Regions from separate parts of the Homo sapiens genome. Here region 2 is linked to region 1. The links are contacts of gene promoters, found by promoter capture Hi-C in blood cells and fetal thymus (Javierre and others, 2016). All regions are on one chromosome and are shown on one strand. The core of a region is centred on a gene start or on the middle of the fragment in contact, and the rest is flanking DNA. Distances in the headings are between cores, read along the strand shown. Region 1 holds the start of SMARCC2 (SWI/SNF related BAF chromatin remodeling complex subunit C2). Region 2 has its middle 6.4 kb from the start of TMT1B.

The links. Contacts are between HindIII fragments. The CHiCAGO score rates a contact against its expected background, and 5 or more counts as called.
Region 2: a contact is called between a fragment that was not itself captured here and the fragment with the promoter of SMARCC2 in region 1, in 1 of 17 cell types (M2 macrophages). The highest score is 7.7, in M2 macrophages.

The regions. Positions count from the first base shown.
Region 1 is chr12:56,188,007-56,190,733 of GRCh38, reverse strand. SMARCC2 (SWI/SNF related BAF chromatin remodeling complex subunit C2) reads left to right here and starts at 1,251. Exons shown (of 29, transcript NM_001330288.2): 1 at 1,251-1,383. The coding sequence starts at 1,273. TRS-CGA4-1 (tRNA-Ser (anticodon CGA) 4-1) reads right to left here and starts at 370; the gene lies at 289-370. LOC107984468 (a long non-coding RNA gene) reads right to left here and starts at 42. Exons shown (of 2, transcript XR_007063330.1): 1 at 1-42. RefSeq lists an enhancer at 605-704 and silencers at 945-1,224, 1,295-1,514. The HindIII fragment of the contact is 5,408 bases long and covers 1-2,727 here.
Region 2 is chr12:55,673,908-55,676,738 of GRCh38, reverse strand. No RefSeq gene overlaps it. Among named protein-coding and RNA genes, the nearest start is that of TMT1B, 6.4 kb to the left of the region's middle. The HindIII fragment of the contact is 3,457 bases long and covers 1-2,831 here.

The sequences.
Region 1 (2,727 bases), core at 2-2,501:
ATCCCAGCATTTTGGGAGGCCGAGGCGGGCAGATAACCTGAGGTCAGGAGTTTGAGACCAGCCTGGCCAATATGGTGAACCTGTCTCTACTAAAAATACAAAAATTAGCCAGGTATGGTGACGCATGCCTGTGGTCCCAGCTACTCGGGAAGCTAAGGCAGGAGAATTGCTTGAACCCGGGAAGCGGAGGTTGCGGTGAGCCGAGATCGCGCCACTGCACTCCAGCCTGAGCAACAGAGCGAGACTCCCTTTTAATAATAAGAAGAAGAAAGAAAAAAAAAAAAAACCCGTCACGAACAGGATTCGAACCTGTGCGGGGAAACCCCATTGGATTTCGAGTCCAACGCCTTAACCACTCGGCCACCGTGACTTCCAAAACCGCGCTTTATCGCGCGCTTACAGAAGGGGTCCGCACTGCAATCCGGGAATGCGTGCGGGAACCGGAAGCAGGGTACCGGCCCCGACACACACACACCTGAGGACTCCCCACCCCTCGGTTCCTTACCTCCTATCTACGCCACCCAAAGAAAAAGAGTCGGATGGACTGGGTGACCCAGGGAGGGAGGGTCTCCTGCCTAGCGAAGAGTCGGGGTCTCGAGTAGGAGCTCACACCTACTTAGGAGGCGACAGCGAGGCCTGCGGAGGAAGCAGTTGAGGGAAGGCACTGGGCCGCCAGGGTGGCGACTAGGGGACATTTGGGTTAACAAGTGAGGGGAGTGCTGGGTGGACAAGGCGCGAGGAGTGAGGGAGACTCTGAAAAGTTTAAATGGGGAGCTGCTGTGAATGGATGGAAGGAAGGAACTTCTTGGGGAAAGGGGTTTGGGGTTTTGGGGGACGAGGGGCTTCGTCGGGTTAGGAATGCGCAAGGTGAGGACCACTCGGGTCTACGGGTTGGGGCTGCTCCAGCGACTGGCGGCCGCCTGGAGTGGGATAGCGAGGTGACACTCCCGAGCTGAGGCAAAAAGAGGGAAAGGGCTTCGCGTCTGGTAAGAGCGATCTCAGGAGAATGGCGCCCCCTCCAGGAAGCGTCCTTCTCCCCGGAGGCTCCCGCCTCCGCTGCCGGGGAGGCCGCCAGGGTCGGCCCGCGCCTGGAGCTCCGCCGCCGCGCCCGGCCTGCCGGCAGGGGGCGCAGCGCGGACCGGGGCCGGCCCAGGCGGCGGGAGGCGGCGGCCGCGGCGGCGGGAGGCGGCGGGAGGCGGGCGGAGGAGGAGGCGGAGGAGGCGGGAGCTGAGCTGAGTGGGGCGGGCGGCGGCGGGGCCCGAGCCGGAGAAGATGGCGGTGCGGAAGAAGGACGGCGGCCCCAACGTGAAGTACTACGAGGCCGCGGACACCGTGACCCAGTTCGACAACGTGCGGCTGTGGCTCGGCAAGAACTACAAGAAGGTACGCGGGCCGGGCCGGGCCGCGCGGGGACCGGGGGCGGGACAAAGGGACCGCGGCCCTGCAGCCCCGGGATCCTGCCTACCCTCCAGGCGCCCCAGCCCCTCCCCCGCGGCCTCCCAAGCAGCCCCCCGCGCGCCCTCCTGCGCTCCCGCGCCCCTCCCCCAGCCTCCCTCTCCCCGCACCCCCAGCCTCTGAGCCCAGCCCCCGCCCCCACTGCTGCGCCCTCTGCCCCTTGTTTTTCTCTACTGCCCGGCGGGCCCCGGTGCCATTAGCCCACCTTCCCCTCAGCCATCGCCCTCCTGGCTTTTCTGGGAGAGGCGGCCGGCCGGGTGTGGACCGGGTGCCCAATGGGCTCCCCCGCAACCCGGAGCGTGCCCGCCAGAGCTCCCCACGGAGCCAGGTACCAGCGGGGCTGAGGCCTCTCCGGTGCTTTGTGTATGTTCAGAGAGAGAGAATGGAAAGCAGGAGGGTAAACAGTCACAGAGCAAGCCGTTGGCTGCTCATCAGCCTGAAAAAGGTCTCCACCCAGGGATCACCTGTCTCCGCCGCTCATCCCCCACCTTCATCTAAGGGGCAACAGAATCTCTCAGGGAGCCGGGGTATAGGAGTTCCTGGGTAGCGGCCCCTTCCGAAACCTTTCCTCGATTTTACAATGAAGTCACCTTGCAACCTAGCTTTGCAGTACCCTGGGTTTGGGGTCGAGAGGTTAGGGTGAGCTTCCTATCTCTAGCCCCTCACACCCAAACCCCATAACTGGAGATCATAAGGTGGTGAACAAAAGGTTCAAGAATCCTTACCTGTCTTTTCTACCAAACCTCTTCCTGGTGTCGTCTTTGTCTCTAGGCCTGGTTTTCTCTGGAAATGGTCTGCCTCTCTTTTTCTCACTACCCTCAGAGAGGGATTCTCTTTATGGCTTTCTTTCAGCTCCCCAGTTCTTCCTGCCGGCTTTGCAGCTCGTCAGAAGTGTGCTTAGTGGCTTAGGAGAACTTCCTACTGATGCTGGTTGTGAGCCTGGCCCTGCCCTTGGGGTCTCTCTGGGTGTGAGAATCCTGACAAATAGCTGCTATTTCTATGGCATGTCTCTACGCCTGTGAGAGGCTCTTATTCCCAGGCTTCTACCTTTGACCTTTTGCAGGGAGATCAGGCTAGGGGCTTAGCCTCCGGCCTTGGGGGAATTGACAGTTGTGACCTGGTTCAGCTTCCATGCTCTTAGCTCTTTGTCATTTACCTTTCCCTTCACAGATCTATCTCTTTTCACCTCTCACTGAGAGGCACTGTCTTCTTTGTGATGAGTGGGGAGAAAACGGGTCAAAAAGTAAAAAGAAAGTCTCCTGGCTCAGGTTC
Region 2 (2,831 bases), core at 271-2,770, 510 kb after region 1:
CATCCCCATCCCAACCCCAGTACCATCAATTTCCTTTCCGTAGGCAATCACTACTCTACTTATGTCTGTATGGATTTACTTATTCTTGACATTTCATGTAATTGGAATCATACTACATGTGGCCTATGTGACTGGCTTTTCACACAGCATAATGCTTCCAAAGTTTACACATGTTGTAGCATGTATCAATACTTCATTCCTTTTACGTCCAAGTAGCATTGCATTGTACAGATATGCCACATTTTGTTTATTTATTCAACAGTTGATAGACATTTGGGTTGTTTCCACTTTTGGGGTACTATAAACAATGCTGCTATGAATTCTTGTCTTCATTTTATCTTTCTTTCTCCTAAATCATTAATCTCTGCCTTTCCATGGATCTTTCAAAATATGAATATGCTCTAATATATTTCAGGTTAATAATAAACTGACCCTCTTGACACCACATGTCACTTTAGCTAAAACTCCATTTTACAAATCTATGTCAAAGTCTTTTTTTTTTGGCAGGATCTTGCTCTGTTGCCTAGGCTGGAGTGCACCATTCTGACTCACTGCAGCCTCAAACTCCTGGGGTTGTGCTGCCCTTCCTGCTTCAGCCTCTTGAGTAGCTAGGACTATAGGTGCATACCACCATGCCTACTAACTTTTAAAAATTTTTGTAGAGACAGGGTATCTCTCAGGGTTGCCCAGGCTGATCTTGAACTCCTGGCCTCAAGCCATCCTCCTGTCTTGGTCTCCCAAAGTGCTGGGATTACAGGCGTGAGCTACTGTGCCAAGCCCAAGAAATTTTTATTAGTGATGGATTGGAGTGGGAGAAAGAGTGAATGGAAGGTGAGGAAACCAAGATAACACGAGCAGATGACTCAAGAATTATGACTTTGGGCGGGCGTGGTGGCTCGTGCCTGTAATCCAAGTACTTTGGGAGGCCGAGAGGAAATGACTGCTTGAGCCCAGGAGTTTGAGACCAGCTTGGGCAACATAGGCTGTTGTTTTTCTCTACAAAAAATAAAAAAATTAGCCAATTAGCCGGGTGTGGTGGCATGCGCCTGTAGCCCCAGCTACTTAGGAGGCAGAGGCAAGGGGATTGCTTGAGCCTGCAAGTTCAGGGTTACAGTGAACCATGACTGGGTCAGTGTACTCCAGCCTGGGAGACAGAGAGAGACCCTGTCTCTAAAAACAAAACAAAACAAAACAAAGAAACCCGAAACTATTATTATCAAGCCTATTAATTATTTCCACATGCCAGGTCCAGTGAATATTCCCTGTTCTCATCTTATCTGACTTTTCAACAGCTTCAGAAATAGTTGGCTACTATTTCTTCTTGAAAAATTCTCTCATCTAGGCTGTCCTAACATAACAGTCTTCTTGTTTCTATAACATTCCCGTGGCTGTTACTTCTTAGAAACTTCTTTTTTTAGATCTTTCTCATCTACTCGACCTTTAAATTTTGTTTCTTTGGGTTTAGTCTTGGGTCTTTCTCTGTCTAAATTCTCTCATTAAATAACCTCATCTTTTTTTTTTTAATATAGACTTTATTTTTTAGAGCAGTTTTAGCTTCATAGAAAAGTTGAGGAAAGTACAGAGATTTTCCACATACCCTTTGTCCTCACACATGACTAGCCTTCCTCATTATCAGTATCCCCCACCAGAGTGGACATTTATTACAATTGATGAACCTACATTGACACATAATTTTCACCAAATCCCATCCATTTTCATGGTTTAAAATGCCATGTATATGCAAATTATTCACACATTTATATCTTTAGTGCAGATCCTTCCTTTGAGTTTCAAATTTGTATACCCAGTTGTGTACTTGATCCTCCTCCTCAGCATATCTTCTGGACATATAAAACTTAACATGTCCAAAATGACACTTACGGTACTCCCCAAGTCTCTTGTCTTACTCTGCCCATCTTCTTCATCATCTCAGTGAATGGCACCATTAGCTTCTTGATTGCTCAACCAAAAACCTAGGATTTATTCTATTTCTTCTCTGTCTCCTCCTTTTCTTTTCTCATTTCTAACTTTGTATAATGGAGAATTTTGAATATACACAAAAGTTGGCAGAACAGTATAAGATACCCCCATGTATACATCATTCATCCCAACAACTATCAACCCACAGCCAATCCTTCCCCATCCACATCCTTTTCTACTTTCTGCTTCCTTCTCCTGTGTGTCATTTTGAAGCAAATCCCAAACATCATGTCATTTCATCTCCATCTGTATCTCTCTATAACATATATATGACTTTCTTTTCTTTTCTTTTTTTTTGAGGCAGAGTCCCGCTCTTTTGCTAGGCTGGAGTGCAGTGGGGCGATCTCGGCTCACTGCAACCTCCGCCTCCTGGGTTCAAGCAATTCTCCTGCCTCAGCCTCCTGAGTAGCTGGGACTACAGGCACGCACCACCACACCCAGCTAATTTTTGTATTTTTAGTAGAGACAGGGTTTCACCATGTTGACCAGGATGGTCTCGATCTCTTGACCTCGTGATCTGCCTGCCTTGGCCTCCAAAAGTGCTGGGATTACAGGTGTGAGCCACCGCGCCCGGCCAATATATATATAACTTTCAAGTTACTCACAAGTCCTGTCAGCTCTATTTCCCAGTTCATTAATTTCATGCATTTCTTTCATCTCCACTGGCATAACCCTAGACCAGATCATGACCCTCCGCTGCCTGGCCCACTGCAAGGGCCTCATTAACTGTCTCTCCACTTTCACCCACTGCTTAAAACCTTTTAGTGGATTCCCATTATCTTTGGTACAAAATCTGAACTCCTTACTGTAGCCCATAAGGCCCTGTGTGATCTGGCCCCTGTCCACCTCTC